3 separate regions of the Homo sapiens genome follow, and regions 1 and 2 are each linked to region 3. The links are contacts of gene promoters, found by promoter capture Hi-C in blood cells and fetal thymus (Javierre and others, 2016). All regions are on one chromosome and are shown on one strand. The core of a region is centred on a gene start or on the middle of the fragment in contact, and the rest is flanking DNA. Distances in the headings are between cores, read along the strand shown.

Evidence for each region. Contacts are between HindIII fragments. The CHiCAGO score rates a contact against its expected background, and 5 or more counts as called.
Region 1: a contact is called between a fragment that was not itself captured here and the fragment with the promoter of PTRH2 in region 3, in 2 of 17 cell types (fetal thymus and total B cells). The highest score is 6.7, in fetal thymus.
Region 2: a contact is called between a fragment that was not itself captured here and the fragment with the promoter of PTRH2 in region 3, in 1 of 17 cell types (neutrophils). The highest score is 5.6, in neutrophils.

The regions. Positions count from the first base shown.
Region 1 is chr17:60,523,249-60,525,948 of GRCh38, forward strand. APPBP2 (amyloid beta precursor protein binding protein 2) reads right to left here. Exons shown (of 13, transcript NM_006380.5): 1 at 2,546-2,700. The coding sequence starts at 2,683. Among named protein-coding and RNA genes, the nearest start is that of APPBP2, 1.6 kb to the right of the region's middle. RefSeq lists enhancers at 1,905-2,613, 2,334-2,603 and a silencer at 2,684-2,700. The HindIII fragment of the contact is 1,064 bases long and covers 919-1,982 here.
Region 2 is chr17:60,410,480-60,413,179 of GRCh38, forward strand. All of the region lies in intron 2 of LOC105371850 (a long non-coding RNA gene), which reads right to left. It also overlaps a transcript of USP32 not described here. Among named protein-coding and RNA genes, the nearest start is that of CHCT1, 11 kb to the right of the region's middle. The HindIII fragment of the contact is 3,591 bases long and covers 1-2,700 here.
Region 3 is chr17:59,706,038-59,708,737 of GRCh38, forward strand. It overlaps PTRH2 (peptidyl-tRNA hydrolase 2), which reads right to left and starts at 1,393. Exons shown (of 2, transcript NM_016077.5): 1 at 1,334-1,393. VMP1 (vacuole membrane protein 1) reads left to right here and starts at 1,617. Exons shown (of 12, transcript NM_030938.5): 1 at 1,617-1,711. RefSeq lists enhancers at 1,207-1,862, 1,663-1,722. The HindIII fragment of the contact is 5,892 bases long and covers 1-2,619 here.

The sequences.
Region 1 (2,700 bases), core at 201-2,700, 820 kb after region 3:
CTTATATTTATGTGTGCAGTTATATTGCTTTAAAAAGTTTTTCCAGCCTGGGCAATATATCAAGACCTCATCTATACTAAAAATTAAAAAAAAAAAAATTAGCTAGGCATGGGTGGCATACACCTGTAGTTCCAGCTACTCAGGAGGCTGAGATGGAAAGACTGCTTAAGCCCAGGGGTTCAAGGTTGCGGTGAGCTATGATCACAACTGCACTCCAGCCTGGGCAACAGAGCAAGATCCTGTCTCCACAAAAAAAGTTTCTTATATGTATATGCTAATAGTGTTTAAAAGGAAGAAAAGTCAGGTGCGGTGGCATATGCCTGTAGTCTCAGCTACTCAGTAGGCTGAGGCAGGAGGATAGCTTGAGCCCAGGAGTTCAAGACCAGCTTGGGCAAAACAGCGAGACCCCATCTCTATTTTTTTTAAATTTTAATAAAAAGAATAATTTCTTCTTACATCTCCATTAAAGATTAGAATAGAGTCCTGGGACTGACTTTCACTCCACTTCCATAGAAGCTAATAAAAAAATTAGTGTTATAATATCTTTCATTAAAATAATCTACTATCTTAAGATAGATATCTAAGTAAAAGAGCAAGGAACTCAGGAACTAAATATCAGGTTTGAGACCTTAATTAAATTACTTAACTTTCTCACCAATAAAGCAAGGTTATACTGTACTCTACTTCACAGTTTAATTCTGAAGATTAAACAAAATAACACATAAAAGCACAACATAGTTACAGGCACATGTTTAACACTTCCCTCATCTTAGCACAGTGCCATACTCCCAATAAGCATACAACTATTAAGAAGTAAAAGTGTACCAAAAAGGAGCAATATTAAAACTGTGTGAACTATGTGAAACAGAAATTCTAACAAAAGCACCATCTATTCATACTAATAATCTTCAAATGAAAAGCTTCAATTAGAAGTGAAAGTTACTAAAAGATATTCAAGTATTTTGAACGAATTCAACTAGTAAATACACTTGGATTACATTCCCAATGATTTCCTCTGAGAGATTACATATGAGGTACAAGATTACACATGATTTAATAAAATGGACAGAGAGCACACACAAAGCTGCAGTTTCCCAGGCTGAGAAAGACAAATCTAATTTGTCCTTCCTGGGGAGGAATGTATCTTAAATGAACAAAATTTCCTTAGAATACACAAAAGTAAATCAATGTATCAAAGGGATTAGGAAAAAAGGGAGCTTTTTCTCGAAATCCAAAATAATAATACGCATGACCTAAATGAATCTTCTCCAAATATTTAGGGGGGAAACCCCACTTTAATTGTTAGAATTGGTGCAAAGCAGCTGGATTTAGTAGAACGCAGCCCATCAACTGCTAATTCTGAAAAAAAAAAAAAAAAAAAAAAAAAAATCTAGGGGTGGAGAAAGCAGGCAATCTTCCCAATAAAACAACTGCCACAAAACACTGTACATACGTAAGAACATAAACATCTGTTAAAATATCAGTTTACACTGTTCCAGCCAACTTACAGATCAAGAGGAAGTATTTAAGGTCTAAAAAATAAATTACATTCTACTTTTAGTCACATTTTGCATGGGTGGCTACTGGACACTAGGAGTTATCGACGCGGATTCAAGACAAGGAAGACTGAATAATAAATCCAGTGTTCACATTCAAATGTGGGGGAGAGAAAAGGGCAGGCTCTGAGTCCATAAAGTTCTCCACACTCTGAAAACACTGCAAAAATAGTCCACATCTAAGGACACTTACCCTTGAAACTCCTTGGAGAGTGGCTTGGGAGACTTGCTGTTCAGATTTTTGAGGGGGAGTGATTTAAGAATGCTGCAAGATTGCAACTTTCAAACACAGGAACATAATCTAAAGTGTTTTTTTCTTTCAGTAAAGATCTCTCCCTGTCCTCTTCAAACAGTTGATCAGCACTCCCATTTTCACAAAATCCCTAATTCAAGTATAGAGCCCCTCCTCTCCCACAAAAAAATCAAAGCTTTAAAGAATATGCAAATAAAACACACAGATTATTTCCAATAATCCCTAACTCCTTCCCAATTGGGAAAAGAAAGGAGAAACGAAGGAACACGAAGCAAAAACACCAAAACACTCGGGGAAGGAAGGCGGCGAGATGAGAAAGTAGGAATGGGTGGGGGGAGGAGCACGGAAAAAAGTCCAGCTGATGCTGACACTTAATTGGAAGGAGAGGATGGAAAATATCCTGAAGATACGGGCTAGAAGGAAAGGACTAGGTGGGACAGGGGCGCGATAGAGTAAGTCCACGCAAAAGGCCTACCCAAGAGGGCCACTGTGTAGAAGGGAACACCAACAGGGAGCAAGACTCCCCAAGATTACTTCAAGGCCCCAAAGCTTAAGAGACAGGGCATAGGGAGATGGGGTGCTTCTCCACTGGCAATGCAGACACCGCACCAGACGTTTCGGGAGGCAAGTCTGCCGGAAGGGGTGAGGGGTTAACTGCGGGGGTTCGCAGACGTGGAAGGGGGTGCGGCCCCCGGGGTTGCTGGAGGAGAGCAGAGAGGAGGCCCACGGCGCATACCTTGTAGTAAACATCAAACTGGATGTTCTCGGGCAAGGAGCGGATGTCTCGGCGGGAGCGGATGTAGTTGTCCACGACAGCGGAGATGGCGGTGTTATAGAGAGTCTCTGGGATCCACTCTAGTTCCACGGCCGCCATCTTCCTTCCCTCCTCCT
Region 2 (2,700 bases), core at 15-2,514, 700 kb after region 3:
AACACGGTGAAACCCTGTCTCTACTAAAAATACAAAAAATTAGCTGGGCGTGGTGGCAGGCACCTGTAGTCCCAGCTACTCAGGAGGCTGAGGCAGGAGAATGGTGTGAACCTGGGAGGCGGAGCTTGCAGTGAGCCGAGATTGCACCACTGCACGCCAGCCTGGGCCACAGAGTGAAACACTGTCTCAAAAAATAAATAAAGAAAGAAAGAACTAGAGAAGCAAGAGCAAACAAAAACAAATGCAGTCTATACTATATAATGCTATATAAATCACAAGAGTCAAAAGCACATAACATAGGTTAGAAATAGAAACTGTCGGCTGGGTGCGGTGGCTCACGCCTATAATCTCAGCACTTTGGGAGGCTGAGGTGGGGGGATCACAAGGTCAAGAGATTGAGACCATCCTAGCCAACATGGTGAAGCCCCGTTTCTACTAAAAATACAAAAATTAGCCAGGCATGGTGGCACGTGCCTGTAGTCCCAGCTACTTAGGAGACCAGCCTGGACAACATAATGAGACCTTCACCTCTACAAAAAAAAAAAAGTTTTTAAAGTTAGCCAGCCAGGCCAGGCACGGTGGCTCACACCTGTAATCTCAGCACTTTGGGAGGCCGAGGCAGGCGGATCACCTGAGGTTGGGAGTTCAAGACCAGCCTGACCAACATGGAGAAACCCTGTCTCTGCTAAAAATACAAAATTAGCAGAGCATGGTGCATGCCTGTAATCCCAGCTATTTGGGGGCTGAGGCAGGAGAATCGCTTGAACCCAGGAGGTGGAGGTTGCGGTGAGCCGAGATTGCCCGATTGCACTCCAGCCTGGGCAATAAAAGCAAAACTGTCTCAAAAATAAATAAATAAATAAATAAATAAATAAATAAATAATTAGCCAGCCATGGTGGTGCATGCCTGCAGTCCCAGCTACTCAGGAGGCTGAGGTGGGAGGATCACTTGAGCCCAGGAGTCAAGGCTTCAGTTTGAGCCGTGATTGTACCATTACACTCTAGCCTCGGTGACAAAGTGAGAGTCTGTCACTATTTTTTAAATTTAATTTTAATTTGTATTTATTTATTTGTTTTAGAGAGAGAGGTCTCACTATGTTCCCCTGGCTGGTCTCAAACTAATGGGCTCAAGTGATCCTCCCACCTCAGCCTCCAGAGTAGCTGAGATTACAGGCATGCACCACCATGTACAGCTCCTATTCTACTTTCTGTCTCTATGAATTTGCCTATTTTAGATATTTCATATAAGTGGAATTATATATTTGTTCATTTGTGTCTCGCTTATTTCACTTAGTAGAGTTTTTAAGATTCATTTATGTTGTAGTATATATGAGGATTTCATTCTTTCTGTGGTTGAATAATATTCTATTGCATGCATATACCACATTTTTTTATCCATTCATCTATTGATGGACACTTGGGTTGTTTCCACTTTTTGGCTATTGTGAACAATGCTGCTGTGAACATTGGTATATAAGTATCTGTTTGAGTCCCTGCATTCAATATAATTTAATATTTAATAATGCTTCTGTTTAGCAAACAGCTGGCAAAATTGCAAAAACTTAATAATCAGCTCTGATGAGCCTGTTAGAGCCAGCTCTAGCACAATATCAGAGAATCTGTAATTTACCTGACTGGACCCAACAAGCCCAACTTGGAATTCAAGCTCACCACACCGGTATTTTCCAAATTTGCCCGATGATGATAATTGCCTAGGATATTTATGAAAATACTGATCCCCAAGCCAGGTGTGGTGGCTCATGCCTATAATCCCAGCACTTTGGGAGGCCAAGACAGAGAAGATTGCTTGAGCCCAGGAGTTTGAGACCAGCCTGGGCAACATGGTGAAATCCCATCTCTACAAAAAATACAAAAATTGGCCGGGTATGTGATGTGAACCTGTAGTCCCAGCTACTAGTGGGGAATGGGGGCGGTGGGGCGGGGGAGCAGGTGGCTGAGGCAGGAAGATCACCTGAGTCTGAGAGGTCAAGGCTTCAGTGAGCTATGATTGCACCACTGCACTCCAGCTTGGGTGACAGAGTGATACCCTGTTTCAAAAAAAAAAAAAAAAATAGTGATTTCCAGACCCTCTTGGGACATTCTGATTCTGAAGATCTAAGGCAAGGTGATTTTTCTGTCTGAAAAACTCTAATATTAGTCCCCAGTCTCACCAAATCTGGGCCTGAAGGGAGGGAGTGGGGTACAAATACGGTGCCCTGGAAGAAAGGTGGTGAGAGTGAGTCCTTTGGGGAGAAATTGCTGCAAAATTTGAGATGCATTTTTTTCCTCTCCAAAATCATTCCCAGCTCCAACATTCATTGACATTCATTCAGTTCTCTCCTGCTTATCTCCCTGAATTCTGTCTTAGCAAAGAAAACCTTCCAGAAAGAGCCAAGAGGAAATCATTAGGCCCCAGCAATTTTGACAAGATCACAGACGCTTGCATATCATTAGACTATTTAGAAACACGCTCTAAAGTTCCGAGGTTGCCATTCTGCAGTGTTATTTTGATACCCTGACAAGATATTTTTAGAGCACATGAAGCCCAAATTAAAACATTGCTACAGGAAAAAAAAAGTGAAATCCAACCAGGGGTCTATTAAATGGAAAACTACAGTAAATATCAGATAAGAGTGAAGAAAATAGTACAAAACATTTTTGAAAACTATTTTGGGAGAAGCAGGAGTTGGAGAGATGCTC
Region 3 (2,700 bases), core at 143-2,642:
TTTTTGTTCTTTAGGATGTTCTAATCTCATATTAATCTGATCAGATTATCATCTAACTCCTCTAAAACAACATGTCTGTCTCTTTTTCTGTACACTTACGACAAGCGTATCAATAAGCCTAGTGCCTAAGACTAAGGTAAAACAAATAACCATTCTTTGTCTCATAAATAATTCTGGGCAATGACAGCAGAACAAAATAAGTACATCCTATAAAATCTTCTTCTTGGTGCCTTCTAATTCCCCTGCCTCAGTAAACCCATTTCAGTAGTGCTCTTGATCCCATTACCTCCTTCTGCACCATGCTCCACCCGTTAATCTTTTTTTAAGAGACAGGGTCTCACTATGTGGCCCCCTATGTGGCCCAGGCTGTTCTCAAACTCCTGGGCTCAAGCAATCCTCCTGTCTCAGCCTCCCAAAGTGTTGGATTACAGGCTGAGCCACCGCGCCGGGTCTGCAGTTTACAACCGAAAAAAACAAACAAACCTTTCCCAAATCTTCTCTGACCCTTAAGCCACTGCCCCACTTTCCCTGTATAACATATTCCCAGAGTCTAGTATGGTGCCTGGGGTATGTCAGTAAGGATTAATACCTCTCTAGTTAATCTCTTTGTGTGAAAAAGGGGGGAAATTTTTTCTTTCTTTTTTTTTTTTTTCTGAGACGAAGTCTCACTCTGTCGCCCAGGCTGGAGAGCAATGGAGCGATATCGGCTCACTGCAACCTCCGCCTCCCGAGTTCAAGTCATTCTCCTGCCTCAGCCTCCCGAGTAGCTGGGATTACAGGCACGCGCCACCACGCCGGCTAATTTTTGTATTTTTAGTATAGATGGGTTTTCGCCATGTTGGCCAGGATGGTCTCGAACTTCTGACCTCAGGTGATCCGCCCACATCAGCCTCCCAAAGTGCTGGGATTACAGGCGTCAGCCACCGCGCCCGGCCCCAAATTTTCGACTATATTCTTAGAAACCAATTCTTTCCACGCAGAGCTCGACAGCTCGAAACGCTGGGGATATTCATAAGTGCCCAGCTGAGGGTATGAGGCCTGCTCGCTATTTTATCAATTTCGGAGAGAGCGCATCGATACTGCCTGCCTGGAGGCTTTGCTGGGAACTAGAAATTCTGAGTCTTCCCCTCCCCAGCAGCCTGTTCCTTTCCTCCAAAGGACGGTTCGCAGAACAGGAACAGAGGGCTCAGCGGCCCCTGGGCGGAAGACAGTTTATAAAGGAGAAAATGAAGAAGGTGGGTAATGCAACGAGGTGAAAAGAAACGTTCCTACTGGCGAGAAAATGAATAATGATATTGGTCTCCTTCGCCCTGTAAGGAGCCAACCAACCTACCTACAGTACCTCCTTTCCTCACTCGCGCCTTCCCTTCTTCTGGGCAGCGAACACGTTTCTATCGCGTGAGCTACCTCTTCCGGGGTTCCTGGGTGACAAGTTCCGGATCAAGAATCACAAAGCGAGCAGTCATTCTTCCTCTTGCCACACCCACAGGGCCCGCACTAAGAGCCTAACTGAAATCCCGCGAGGATCAACCGAGCTCGCCGAAAGGAGGGAGGAACGTATCCCTTCTGGAGGCTGTCTCAGGGGGCAGAGGGACCGGACCGGAAGTGACGTGAGCGGGTTCCGGTTGTCTGGAGCCCAGCGGCGGGTGTGAGAGTCCGTAAGGAGCAGCTTCCAGGATCCTGAGATCCGGAGCAGCCGGGGTCGGAGCGGGTAGGTAAACTAACTCAGGGAATTGGGGACCGAAGCCTGAGGCTGTCCTCAGAGCTTGGCGTCTTCCGGAGCTCTCCCACTTAGGCATTGCGGATCTGGGGCACTGTGATTCCGACTTCCAGCAGTGTTTTAGGACGCTGCTGACTGGATGTCTCACCCTGGATGTCTCACGCTGGCGGTAGCCAGGTTATTTGGGACACCTTCTCATGGTTGGTCACCCGGACATTGAACCCAGACACCGGGCTGTTCGTTCTCCTCTCCGCGTACTTGGAAGCCTTGCTAGGCTTCTTTAGAGAACCTCTTAGTCCCGGGATGTCCAGGACCTTGGAGTAAGTGGAGAAGGTCTTCCCTGCTGATGACTGAGCTATTTCTCAGGATCTGTCAGTTTGGTTTTTGCTCTCCCGAACCTCTGGCGCATGATGCTAGATGTATTCGCTCCTAAACGAAATCCAGGCGTGCAAGTGCCATCTAAAGCTCTGGTGGTACAGGGTAGCCAAGGGAATGGGCCTTCGCTCCGCAGAGCCCTTGGAGAGGAACTTCTCAGATTTTTCACTGCTTTAATGAAAAAGAGTTGTCTGCCTTTCCAAACCCCTGAACCCCGACCTCTATATCTTATTACAGTGGAGGTATTTGCAGTAAAACGTGAAGGTCGACTTAATCTCTAAAATTCCAGAAACCATATGTGGCCCTGTGTCACACTGCTAGATTACTTATGACCTCCAGAAGATTTTACACAATCATCTTTTATTTACCTGCAACTCCATGTAAAAATCTAATAATACACGTAGACTGGCCACTGTTGATGTGTTTTGGCAGCATCGCTCCTTATCCTAATGTTAACGTCTTTCATTTCTACTTTGGGGCTTGTCAGAGATTTTTGTGGACAGATTACATTGATCATTTGAAGAAGCTTGTACAAGTGTTTCTGGTGTTGTCATGATAGAATTTAATATTCCAGTTGCTACTACCTAGTAATTGTATTGTCATTA